Regions from separate parts of the Homo sapiens genome. Here region 1 is linked to region 2. The links are contacts of gene promoters, found by promoter capture Hi-C in blood cells and fetal thymus (Javierre and others, 2016). All regions are on one chromosome and are shown on one strand. Each heading gives the region's core, a stretch centred on a gene start or on the middle of the fragment in contact. The rest is flanking DNA. Distances are from core to core; before and after follow the strand shown.

The links. Contacts are between HindIII fragments. The CHiCAGO score rates a contact against its expected background, and 5 or more counts as called.
Region 1: a contact is called between a fragment that was not itself captured here and the fragment with the promoter of MARS2 in region 2, in 1 of 17 cell types (neutrophils). The highest score is 5.3, in neutrophils.

What each region holds. Positions count from the first base shown.
Region 1 is chr2:197,467,952-197,475,010 of GRCh38, reverse strand. COQ10B (coenzyme Q10B) reads right to left here. Exons shown (of 5, transcript NM_025147.5): 4 at 4,840-4,941; 5 at 1-1,254. The coding sequence ends at 1,087. It overlaps LOC124907951 (a long non-coding RNA gene), which reads left to right and starts at 1,970. Exons shown (of 2, transcript XR_007087903.1): 1 at 1,970-2,170. The HindIII fragment of the contact is 620 bases long and covers 1,911-2,530 here.
Region 2 is chr2:197,700,149-197,707,134 of GRCh38, reverse strand. MARS2 (methionyl-tRNA synthetase 2, mitochondrial) reads right to left here and starts at 1,766. Exons shown (of 1, transcript NM_138395.4): 1 at 1-1,766. The coding sequence starts at 1,729. RefSeq lists enhancers at 1,363-1,482, 1,523-1,572 and a silencer at 1,713-1,952. The HindIII fragment of the contact is 9,491 bases long and covers 1-6,986 here.

The DNA.
Region 1 (7,059 bases), core at 971-3,470, 230 kb after region 2:
AATAGAAAATAGGGATGCATAGTGCTGGAGACATTCAACCAACTTATCTTCATCTGTTGCCTACTGTTGTAGACAAAATTTGACACACAATTAGCATTACTGAAAGAGCAGCCAAACTACCTCGGAGAAAGTGGCAAACTACTGGAAAAGTAGCTTAAAGCTCTGGACCACTCACCAAAAAAAAAAAAAAAAAGAAGAAAATACACTGTTTATCTGGGAGCTAGCCTCATTATGGCAATGAATTTATCTACTAGTCATAAGAACAATTTTTAAAATATCAAAAGTCCCAGGGAACCTTCACTAACAGTTTTTGTTTTTGTTTTTGGAGACAGAGTCTCCCTCTGTTGCCCAGGCTGGAGTGCAGCAGGGCGATCTTGGCTAACTGCAACCTCCGCCTCCCGGGTTCAAGCGATTCTTGTGCCTCAGCCTCCCAAGTAACTGGGATTACAGGTGTGTGCCACCACGCCCAGCTAATTTTTGTATTTTTAGTAGAGATGGGGTTTCGCCATGTTGACCAGGCTGGTCTAGAACTCCTGACCTCAACTGATCTGCCCACCTCAGCTTCCCCAAGTGCTGGGATTACAGGTGTGAGCCACTGTGCCCAGCCCAAAGTTTTTACTTTAAATATATGATTACTCAAATATCCTAAGCCATACGGCAGGCCCTATAACAATAAGTTACAAATAGTCTGAATTTAATAACTTAAGTGTGATATGGTTAATATAATACATACTGTGTGAATATCTTAACTAACCTCTTTCAGGTAAGGTGATAATTAAAAGGTTTAAATTTACAGTTTCAACTTCTGCTCAGAAGAATCATGCCAGTATTCTAGCAATGGTGATGACATCCCATTATTGTAATGCAGAACATGATAATGTCCATATTATTTTGAATTATACTTGAAGAAATAATTCTATGTACAAGTGAGTCTATATTCTATGTGCAAATTTTCAATGGTGCAGGTTTATAACCAAAGCTGCGTTTAACAAATGCTTTCTGGCTTCTGAAAACATGTCATGAAAATACTTCCTAAAAGTGAACAAACTAAAGTCAGAAGCAGGTGGCACCAGTTCTTTTTTGCCTTTATGTGTGATGGACTTCATGAAGCATTAACTCCCGAGGTATATTTGTTTCTGGACCATACAGCTTACATGCTCTTCTTTCAAAGGCAGCTACCATCTGCTTCACAACTTCATCAAAAAAGAGTGTGGCAAGCTGGGAATGTAGAAGTGATCGAAATTCAAAAGAAATCTGTAGGAAAATATTGAAAATTATTTTAGAAAAAATTATTTTTTGCTTTTTTTTTTTTTTTGGTTTTCCTGGAGAGGGACTCTCGCTTTGTTGCCCAGGTTGGAGTGCAGTGGCACAATTGCGGCTCACTGCAGCCTCAACCTCCTGGACTCAAGCAATCCTCCCACCTCTGTCTCCCAAGTAGCTGGTACTACAGGCATATGCCACCACATGTGGCTAATTTGTGTGTGTGTGTGTGTATATATATACGTATATATATACGTATATACATATATATACGTGTATATATACATATATATATATGTATATATGTGTATATATATATATATATATATATATATTTTTTTTTTTTTTGTGGGGGGGGGCGTAGAGAAGGGGTTTTGCCATGTTGCCCAGGCTGATCTCAAACTCCTGGGCTAATGCAATTCTGCCCACTTCAGCCTCCCAAAGTGTTGGGATTATGGGCATGAGCCACTGTGCCCAGCCAGAAAGATTTTTTTTAAACTAAATCTCCACTTAGGACAGTGGTGTTCACACTATGAACTGGGTATCTAAGGTAGAATTGTGTGGATGTATGTAGGTGGGATTTTTAGCACCCCCACAAAAGAGGGAATCTTCTTTTACTGCAACAAGCACAATTGCTGGCACAATAAGCTTACATAAAGAAGGCCAATGAAATCTCATTTCAAGGGAAAAAGTCTGTTTCTTAATAAGAGAAGACTGGAAAAAACCTTTGCTGAATACATTAATCACTATGCCTTCTTATTAATGTGTCCCTTTTAGATCCATCCTATCCCACAAAAGGAAATAAGGAAGGAAAGTGATCCTTCTCATAGGTATCACTGAGAAGCACCAGCAGGAAGAGGAGGCTGGAAGTGTGCATGCACATGTGTGCCTAACCCACAGGGCAGATGGTGTAAGTGGTTTAATCTTTCTTTTTTTTTTTTTTTTTTTTTGAGATGGAGCCTTGCTCTGTCGCCCAGGCTGGAAATGGCCCAACCTCGGCTCAAATGCAACCTCTGACTTCTAGGTTCAAGCGATTCTCCTGCCTCAGCCTCCAGAGTAGCTGGGACCACAGGCACCTGCCACCACGTCCAGTTAATTTTTGTATTTTCAGTAGAGACGGGGTTTCACCATGTTGGCCAGGCTGGTCTCAAACTCCTGACCTCAGGTAATCCACCCACCTAGGCCTTGCGAAGTGTTGGGATTACAGGCATGAGCCACTGCGCCCGGCCACGTGGTTCAATCTTAAAGTAGCCAATGATGTGGACAAGCTTGTCCAATCCACCTTATTTTGTAGTTGTTGTTGTTTTGTTTTGTTTTGTTTTAGGCTTTTAACAGCCTGAAGCCATGGGTTTTAGTTTCTGTCTCTAGTGGTTAAGTGGAAAAGAGGGATGAGGAAGAGGCTTTACTGGCCCAACCAGAAACAGAAACTAAGAACCCATGACTGTATTCTCTCCCTTGGATACCCTTTCAGAACTTTATTTATACCCTCTCATTGTTCCATATAGAATTCAAGACAACTGGTTTGAGAACTGTGTTTTAAGGACCAAATATCCTCTAAATATTAAAATGTTTATCTTTCATTACGAAATAATTTCATTTTTGTAAAAAAAAAAAACTACAAAATAATACAAAGAATTCCCATGTACCCATTACCCATATTTCCCTATTTTAATGTCTTCAATAACCATACTGCAATTATCAAAATCAGGAAATTAACAGAGGGAGTTACTACTACTAGATAATAATGCTATTATCTAATTTATATAGACCTTATTCAAATTTTCCCAATTGTCCTTTTTTTTTTTTTTTGAGACAGTGTCTCACTCTGTCACCCAGGTTGGAGTGCAGTGGTACGATCTCAGATCACTGCAACGTCCACTTCCTGGGTTCAAGTGATTCTCCTGGTTCAGCCTTTCAAGTAGCTAGGACTACAGGCATGCACCACCACACCCGGCTAATTTTTGTATTTTTAGTAGAGATGGGGTTTCGCCATGTTGGCCAGGCTGGTCTCAAACTCCTGACCTCAAGTGATCTGCCCGCCTCGGCCTCCCAAATTGCTGGGATTACAGGCGTGAGCCACTGTGCTTGGCCCCAATTGTCCTATTAATGTCTATAATGCTTTAATGAAAATTACTCAAGAGCTGAGAACAGCACACGATAATTTAGTCAAAATTGCCACCATTTCTTAAAATTCAATGCCCAAGTTGCCTGTACAGAGAACAACTCCCATATTACCTGTTGGCAAAGAAAAAGCCACAAATTGCTTTAAGTTTTCTATAACTACGATTATATGAAAAAGAAAGTTACTAGGCTGGGTGCGGTGGCTCACGCCTGTAATCCCAGCACTTTGGGAGGCCAAGGTAGGCAGATCTCCTGAGCCCAGAAGTTCGAGACCAGCCTGGGAAACATGGCAAAACCCCATCCCTACATAGAATACAAAAATAAGCCTGTGTGGTGGTGCATTCCTGTAGTCCCAGCTACTCGGGAGGCTGAGGTGTGAGGATCACTTGAGCCAGGGAAGCAGAGGTTACACTGAGTCAATATCACAGCACTGCACTCCAATCTGGGTGACAAAGTAGCGCCCCATCTCAAAAAAATAAAAAAAGAAAGTTACCAGACTCTAGATGCAAAAAAATGAAAAAAATATATTACCTTATTTCTGCATGTTTTATTTTTAAATTTTTTGAGACAGGGTCTCACTCTGTTGCCCAGGATGGAGTACAGTGATGTGATCATAGTTCACTGCAAGCTCGAACCCTTGGACTCAAGTGATCTGCTCGTCAGCCTTCTCAGCAGCTAGGACTACTGGTGGGCACCACTACACAAGGATAATTTTATTTTTATTTTTATTTGTTTTGAGACAGTTTTGCTCTTGTTGCCCAGGCTGGAGTGCAATGGCACGATCTCGGCTCACTGCAACCTCCGCCTCCCGGGTTCAAGTGATTCTCCTGTCTCAGCCTCCTGAGTAGCTGGGATTACAGGCACATGCCACCACGCCCGGCTAATTTTTGTATTTTTACTAGAGACGGGGTTTCATGATATTGGTCAGGCTGGTCTCGAACTCCTGACCTCAGGTGATCTGCCCGCCTCAGCCTCCCAAAGTGCTAGGGTTATAGGTGTGAGCCACCCCATCCAGCCGATAATTTTATTTTCACTAGAGACAAAGTCTTGCTATGTTCCCCAGGCTGGTCTCAAACTCCTGGCCTCAAGTGATCCACCTGACTCAGCCTCCCAAAGTGCTGGGATTCCAGGCATGGGCTACTGCACCTAGCCTGTTTCTGCATCTTATATGCAATGTGTTCTTTCATTTGGTGTTAATTTAAAACTATTATTAAGTTTAAAACTGTTATTAAGCTGGTTGTAAAGTCATGGCATGTATCTTACAATCTACAGATTTGTAAAAAACAGAATGAAGGAATATTCAAGGTTGCAAGAAATAGAATAAAAAAGAAATGTTCATTAGCATTTATGCAGAAAAAGGTATTCAATATAATTATGGCCTCTGTGTTCTAAAAAATGATTACTTTTTACCAATTTTACCTCATAAGTGGAACAAATCAAGGGCTTTATGAGACTTACTGAAAAATCCAAGGTACAAGTTCTTGGGTAGCCAGGAAGACCTGGGCTAAAACGCCAAATAGTCTCCAAATGATTGAAAAGTCTCCCATCAGTACAAGATGCCTACAACAAAATGAAAAAATAAAACCACAGTTAAATACCTTTGCTACTGGACATAATCTAAGAATCTACTATGACTGAGGCTGATTTCTTTCATAAGTAATAATTTTTATAGGTCAGACCATAGGAGATAAAGATATCTAATTTTTAGCTTGGTACTAGGAAGTAATGTCTTGCCAATATTAGCCTTTTTTTTTTTTCCTGCAGGGATCCCTAAGATTGCCAGGTGTTTTCTCTTCCATTGCTAACACCTGCTTTGCTACTTAGCTTTCCTTCCTCTAGAAGCAAAAGAGGGAGCTTCTTGGAAGCTTATTTCTAGCTCTGCCACATATAAGTGATCGTGAACAAGTTAAATCCCCATACCCTATTTCCTTAATCTGTAAAATAATACCTACTTTATATCATGAGATCACTGAAATGTTAATAAGGTACCTGGTACACATTTATCTCCTACTCAAAGACTGTTCTCTTATTAATCACGTATAGTCTTTCCTTCACTCTTTGCTCCTTATTCCTAGAGGCCTCTATCTAGTTTTCCTAACTGTGTAGTCCTGGCCCTTAGCCCTGATCCATTTCTTTCTGATTTTTTCAATGCACATGTATACTTTATATTCAGTATGCACACAATCACAATACTTAACCATACTATGTGCAGGGCATCTTGGTAGTTCCTATTTTGTATCATAAAAAAAATACTTATTGTGGCTGGATGTGGTGGCTCACACTTGTAATCCCATCACTTTGGGAGGCCAAGGTTGGGGGATCACTTGAGCCCAGGAGTTCGAGGCTGCAGTAAGCTATGATTATGCCACTGCACTCCAGCCTGGGCAACAGAACGAGATTCCCTGTCTCTTCGAAAAAAATTTAAAAATTAGCCAGGTTTAGTGATGCATGCCAGTAGTCCCAAGTACCCAGGAGGCTGAGGTGAGGGGACTGCTTGAGCCCAGGAGACTGAGGCAGCAGTGAGCTATAATTACGCCACTGAACTCCAGCCTGGGTGACAGAGCCAGACACTGTCTGAAAAAATAAAATAAAAATAAAAATAAAAAATAAAAAAATTTATTGAGATCCATGAAAGAGATGCCATCTGCAATCTGAAAATGGTAACCAGAACCATAGTTACTAGTTCATTGTTAGGACTGATTATGCTCGTTATGACCCTGAGAGATGCTCAGCATTTTATTTTTATTTTTATTTTTATTTTTTCCCACCTCAGCCTCCCAAGTAGCTGGGACCACAGGTGTGTGACACTATGCCCAGCTAATTATTTCATTTTTTGTAGAGTTGTGTTCTCCCTAAGTTGCCCAGGCTGGTAATGAACTCCTGGGCTCAAGTGAACCTCCTGCCTTGGCCTCCCAAAGTGCTGGGATTACAGCAGGCGTGAACCACCTCATCCACACAAATAATCTAGAGCATTCCTAAAGTGCACAGGTAATTTCTAAGAGCATCAAGAGTCTATAATAAAATCTTGTTATTTCAGTTGCCCAACTTTAGGATAATACATTCTGCCCTTCTTTACAATCATTTAAGAAGCTTATAGGAAATTTAACATTAAAGGATAAACAGGTTTTGGGAGTATTCACTGTAACATAGCACCTTCCTCTGACTACTTTTTTTTTTTTTTTTTTTTGAGACGGAGTCTCACTCTGTCACCCAGGCTGGAGTGCAGTGGCGCGATCTCGACTCACTGCAAGCTCCGCCTCCTGGATCCACACCATTCTCCTGCCTCAGCCTCTCAAATAGCTGGGACTACAGATGCCCGCCACCATGCTCGGCTAATTTTTTTTCGTATTTTTACTAGATATGGGGTTTCACCATGTTAGCCAGGATGGTCTCGATCTCCTGACCTCCTGATCCCCCCGCCTCGGCCTTCCAAAGTGCTGGGATTACAGGTGTGAGCCACCACACCCGGCCTCCTCTGACTACTTTTATACAAAATCTGGCAGTATTTCACTCACTCCAATTATCTAGCCCAAGGACGCACGGATTTTTACTGTTATGTTTTGACACGAAGAGTTTGCCAAAGACCTCATTTCTAAGAGCAGAGATACTGAATAGTAGAAGCTGTCATAATGATGACCTACTACTGACTGTTCTGAGTGAACTGATTTAGACCATTAT
Region 2 (6,986 bases), core at 517-3,016:
ACAAAAGCCCAGTTTCAGGTCCCAGCCTCCTCCCTTCAAAAGGGCATGGATGTCCATAGAATCGAGGCAAGAAATAGAGCTCTCCAAGACTCCTCTCTGAGGCAGAGACCCCCAGCCTAGACAGCAGCTTGTCAGCTAGGCTTGGGGTGACAGGCTGCAGCAAAGTCCCAAAGACTCGCAAACATTCCAAGGCCACATGAAGCACAGTACCCAGCCAGGGAGCATCCACTGGGCTCTCCCAGTTCAGCTTCCATGGTGCATGCCTTTGGACAAAACCATTAGTTTGCCGGACACAGCTGGACACGGCCTCCAGAGCCTTATATATCCGAAAGTTATCATAGTGGTCTGCTACCTGCTTTGGCAAAGTGGCCACTGCGCTCACCAGAGCATAATCCTCTGCCTGAGCACGAACTGACGGCCCCACCAACCCTGGCTCACTAGGGAAGCAGGTAGTGCAGAAGGCTGGGTAGGTCTCAGAAGGATTTATTCTTTTGGCAGTGCATCGGTTCAAGAGACCTCCCAAGGCATCTGCCAGCTCGGAGTTCAGCAACTTAACCACCTTTTCATCATAGTAGTCACAGTCCCAGTTGGGGACGCCCTGCCGAAGGAGAAAGTAGCGGAAGCCATCCACGGTATAGCGGTTAAGGCAAGTCCTAGGATCCACCACGTTGCCCAAGCTCTTGGACATCTTTTGGCCACAGACTGTCCAGTGGGAATGGACACAGATGCGCTGTGGCGGGCTCATGCCGGCCCCTAACAGGAAGGCAGGCCAATAGATGGCATGGAATTTGAGAATGTCCTTACCTATGATATGAGAGGTGGCCGGCCACCAAGATTTGAACTCAGCATTTGGGTAGCCAATTACAGTGAGGTAGTTGACCAGGGCATCCAGCCATACATAGATGGTCTGCGAATCATCCCCGGGCACCGGAATGCCCCAGTGCAAGTGGCTACTTCTGCGAGACACGGACAGGTCGGGCAGCTCCTCGTCCAGCCACTGAAGAACTACGTGATGAAATGGTTCGGGGGTGATCGCCTGAGGGTTGCCCCGCAGCCACCGCTGGAGTGGCTTCCGGAACTGGGAAAGCCTGAAAATGTAGTTTTCTTCCTTGGTCCAGGAGACTGGATGCCCGCTCTCGAGAGATACAGGAAACGAATCCCCCGATGGGCCCGGCTGCTGGGTGACCTTGGCCTCAGGCAGGAAGCACTCGTCGGAAGCGCAATACCAACCTTCATAGACGCCCTTGTAGAGCAGACCGCGGGACTTAAGCACCCCCCAGAAGTGCTGCACAGCCACCCGGTGCCGGGCCTCCGTGGTGCGGATGAAATCTGTGCAGGAGATACCGGCCTCCTGGAAAAGCTGCTGGAACTGCTCAGAGACTCGGTCGCACAGCTCGGTCGGGGCCAGGCCCGCGGTAGCTGCTGCCTGCTGAATCTTCAGCCCGTGCTCGTCGGTACCAGTGGAGAATCGCGTGGCGGCCGTGCTGGGACCTCGGAGGCGACGGTGGCGGCATAGGGCGTCCGCCAGTAGTGCCGAGTACAGGTGCCCGATGTGCGGCGCCGCGTTCACGTAGAAAATGGGTGTAGTGAAGTAGGCGCGCACATCACAAGCATCATCGCCGGCACTGAGGGAGCCCGAACTGTAGTAGCGTGGGCCGAAGTCCTCCAGGAGAGACAGCCTACTAGCCCCCGTGCGTCCTAGCAGGCGGAGGACGGACGTTCGCAGCATGGTGCAGACCGGCCGCAAGCGGAGGAGGCGGCGTTCTGACAGCACGTGTGAGAGGCGCATGCGCAGCCGGGTCGCGCCGCAGCTTCCGGCCGGAAAGCCAATGAAACGCGGCCCCGAGCGCCGGCCCTCACCGCCCTCCCCGCCCGGCCCCGCCCCGCCCGCGCCTGCGCCGTCCGCACGCCGAAAGCCGCGGCGCCAGAGGCCGCCAATGGACGGCGGCTTGCCAGAAAAACAGCTCAGAGTTGCCGGGTTTAGGAGAGGCTATGAAAGAAGACGAACCTCTTTGCCTTCGTATAACATACTGTGTTTCCTGCTTTGGATTGTAATTTTATATTTATGAATCTGTTTCCCCCTCTAGGCTGAGCTGCTTGTAGGCAAGAGTTTTATATTCAGCCGTTTGTCTAAACCCCGTCCGTGGCTGGCATACTGCAAGACAGAGTATTGCTCTGCACATGCCCTGTCGATATCTAAAATGTCACCTAAATTTTATCTCAGAGCCTAAATCAATCTGTAAGGGAGGGAGAGAGAAAAAAGATGAAAAATCATTACCTACAGCATTTTGAGAGAAGGATAAGAACTGAGAATGGAAGAGAAGTCTTTAAACAGTTTTTGTTGAATCAACAAAAGTAGATTTGTGATCTGCCAAGTTCTTGCCAAAGTTTATTGAGATCCAGGAAAGTAGAGTGCAATATGCTGTCACTGTGCATATAAAGAATAATTTTCAAATTTATTTCTCAAAAAGTTAATTTTTTTAATGGTCTTGAAGTTCTTTTAAAATAGTGTTTCTCAAGTTTGCTTTTAGTAATGGAACCTTAGAATTTTTTTTAGGGGAGGAAACCTCAGGAGCCCAGAATTGAATTAATGTTAATCCCTAGTTCATAACACACTCTCATCTTTGATCTTTTTTTTTTAATTTAATTTAAGTAGCATATACATTTAATAATAAAATGGAGCAGCTATGAACCTACAACCCAATCTAAGAACTACAAGTGGTTTCAGAGTGTGGTCCCCAGAGCAGCAGAACTGGCAGCACCTGGAACTTCGTTCGATATGTATATTCTTAGGCCCCATCCCCCACATACTGAACCAGAAAACTCTGAGGGTAGGGCCCAGTAATTTAGATTTTAAGGTGATTCTGATGCACATTAAAGTTTGAGAAACACTGAACTAGAAAATTACCAGTGATTTAGATCTGTGTGCTCCTTTTCTTCTCGTACTGTCCTCCCTGAGGTAGTCATTGTCCTGAATTTTGTTCTTGCACATTTGTGTGATCACATACAAAGTATGTCTAAGTAACATTGTTTAATTTTGCTTGCATTTAAATATTCTAAAAAGGATATAATACTACATGTAGTCTTCAACTTGCCTTTTTATTCAACATTTTGTTGCTATATTAATCCATGTTGTTGCATGTAACTGCATTCATATGTTCTTAATACATGTTGCATGTAATTCATTCATTTTGACTGCTGTATAATAACCTTTGACTGAACACATATGGTAACTTGGATCTGATTTCTCTAGTGATATGATGAAAGGTGGACCAATCGAATTCTGTATAAGAGATATAAAAAATAACTTTGGATACTCAGTTGATGTGCTCTTATTTAATCCAGCAGTTTAAGAATGACCTACAACCATCTGGTCTTCAACAAAGTTGATAAAAACAAGCAATGGGCAAAAGACTCCCTATTCAATAAATGGTGCTTGGATAACTAGCTAGCCATATACAGATGAAACAGGACCCCCTTCCTATACCATATACAAAACTCAACTCAAAATGGATTAAAGACTTAAATGTAAAACCTAAAACTAAAAACCTTAGAAGGTAACCTGGGAAATACCATTCTGGACATAGGACCTGACAAAGATTTCATCATGAGGATGCCAAAAGCAATTGCAACAAAAACAAAAATTGACAAATGGGACCTAATTAAAGAGTTTCCGCACCACAAAATAAACTATCAACAGAGTAAGCAGACAATCTACAGAATGGGAGAAAATATTTTCAAACTATGAATCCAAGAAAGGTCTAATATCCAGAATCTATAAGGAATTTTAAAAATCAATAAGCAAAAAACCTCATTAAAAAGGCAAAGGACATAAACAGACACTTCTCAAAAGAAGATAGACATGCGGCCAACAAGCATATAAAAAATGCTTAACATCACTCGTCATTACAGAAATGCAAATCAAAACCACATTTAGATACCATCTCACACCAGTCAGAATGAATATTATTAAAAAGTCAAAAAACAACAGATGCTGGCAAGGTTGCAGAGAAAAGCAACACATACACTGCTGGTGGGAATGTAAATTACTTCAGCCATTATAGAAAGCAGTTTGGTGATTTCTCAAAGAACACAAAGCATAATTATGATTTGACTTAGCAATCTCATTATTGAGTATATATCCAAAGGAATATAAATCATTCTACTGTAAAAAAAAAACGCACTCCCATGTTTATTGCAGCACTGTTCACAATAGCAAAGACATGGAATCTTCCCTAAATGCCCATCAACAGTAGACTGAATAAAGAAAATGTGGTACATATACACCATGGAATACTATGCAACCATAAAAAAGAACAAGATCATGTTCTTTACAGCAACATGGGTGGAGCTGGATGCCATTATCCTAAGTTAACCAACATAGGAACAGAAAGCCAACTATCATATGTTCTCACAAGTGGGAGCAAAACATTGAGTACATATGGACACAAAAAAGGAAACAGCAGACTCTGGGGCCTACTTGAGGGTGGAGGAAGGGAGGAGAGTGAGGACTGAAAAACCATCTATCGGGTACTATGCTTTTTACCTAGGTGGAGAAATAATCTGTACACCAAACTGCCGTGACACACAATTTACCTATATAACAAACAGGCACATGTACCCTGAACCTAATACAAGTTTTTTTTAAAATGGCAAGTGAACATAGGTAAAACTTAAAACTGGAAGGTATATACGGCACCCTCCAGAACTGGCAGATAAATGGAAGCTAAGTGTCTGAGAAACCAGGTTATCCAGAAATTCTTACTATTTTTTTTTCCTTTTCCATTGAAGTACTGCCTCAGCATACAAGTGTGCTATTTTTTCTCCCATTTAAAAAAAAAATTCTCAACCTCCATTACTGCACCATTTCTTTCCTTCCCTTTAGAGCAGAACTCCTTAAAGAAATGGCCATTGATACACACTTCAGTGATTCAAGTTTTCACTCTTAGAAACAATACTACTATTAACACTGTCGTATATGTCTCCTGGTGCCTATATGCTGAAGTTTCTCTTGGATATATACATGGGAATGAAATTGCTGGATCATAGAGAGTATGAGTTTTCCATTTTTCAAAATAATGCCAAGTTATTTTCCAATGGTTAAACAAATTTACACTCTACTCAGCAATATACCCTTGAATAGATCTCTCCAGTATTTGGTATTGTCTGTCTTAATTTTTGTCAGTCAAATAGATGTAAAGTATTATCTCACTAATATTTATTTATAACAGCAGTATTCACAATAGACAAAAGGTGGAAACAGCCCAAATGTCCATCATCTGATGAATGGATAAACAAATGAGATATATCTATACAATGGACTATTACTCAGCAATAAAAAAGAAAAAAGTGAGAGAGGGAAGATGGTGGTTAGGAGACAGGGCTGATGTGCAGCTCCCACTTGGATGGAGAGAACAGTGTGGGCAGATTCACACCATGAACTTTTGCTCCAGCAACCACTGCAGGAGCATATCAGGAAAACCATAACAAATCACAGATCCTTTAAAATAAGTGGCAGGCCCCTGCAAATTCCACAAGACAGGTGAAAAACTCTGGTGCTATCTCAAAAACACCACCTCCCAGCTAGAGGCCAACCAACTCAGGACATTACAGCAACTCATGACAGAACAACCCTGTTCCAAGGAAGGAGAAAATAACAGCTAATTCCACTGCCTGCAACATCCTGGCTAACCAGTGGTTCTGAATCTGTCCACGTGACAGCTTCACTGCTGGCATAACCAGCATTTGAGAAAGCAGGCACTCTAAACATATCTACAACCAAGGACTCTCACAGAGTCTACGTCACTCCCCTACCATCTCTACCAGAACAGGTGCTGGTATCCACAACTGGGAGACCTAAAGACGAATTGCAACACAGGAATCTTCACAGACATTCTCCAGCACCAGCCTAGAGTCTGGTAGCACCACTGGGTGGCTAGACCCAGAAGAGCAATAACAATCAGTCTGCAGACTGGCTCGCCAGAGCCCCATCTTTAGGGAAAGGAGGAGTGTACCACATCAAGGGATCACCCCATGAGTCAAAAGAATCTGAGCAGCAGCCCTTGAGTTTCAGATTGTTCCACTGAAATAGTCTATCCAAATGAGCAAGAATCAGAAAAGTAATTCTGGTATTATGACAAAACAAGTTTCTATAACACCCCCAAAAGACCACACTAGCTCCCAGCAATGGATCCAAACCAAGAAGAAATCTCTGAATTGCCAGATTAAAATTTCAGAAGGGTGATTATTCGGCTTCTCGAAAAGATACCAGAGAAAGAAATTTTAAAAAACAATACAGAGTATGGATGAAAAACGCTCCAGAGAAATAGATATCATAAAGAAAAAACTATCACAACATCTGAAAATGAAAGACACATTTAGAGAAACACAAAATGCACTTAAAAGTTTCAACAACAGAATCAAACAAGTAGAAGAAGAACTTCAGAGCTCAAAGACAACTCTTTTAAATTAACCCAATCAGACAAGGACAAAGAAAAAAGAATATTTTAAAAAAATAAACAGGCCAGGCACGGCTGGGATTACCCAGCACTTTGGGAGGCCGAGGCAGGCAGATTGCCTGAGGTCAGGAGTTCGAGGCCAGTCTGGCCAACATGGTGAAACCCCGTCTCTATGAAAAACACAAAAAAATTAGCCGGGTGTGGTGGTGTGCGCCTGTAATCCCAGCTACTCAGGAAGGTGAGGCAGGGGAATTGCTTGAACCAGGGAGGTGGAGGTTGCGGTGAGCCGAGATCAGGCCACTGCACTCCAGCCTGGGCAAGAGAGAGAGACTCCATCTCAAGAAAAAAAAAAAAAAAAAAGAACAAGACCTCCAAGAAACTTGGGACTATGTTAAACAGCCAAATCTAAGAATAATTGGTGTTCCTGAGGAAGAAGAGAAATCTAAGAGTTTGGAAAACATGTTTGAGGGAATAATCAAGGAAAACTTCCCTGGCCTCACTAGAGATCTAGACATCCAAATACAAGAA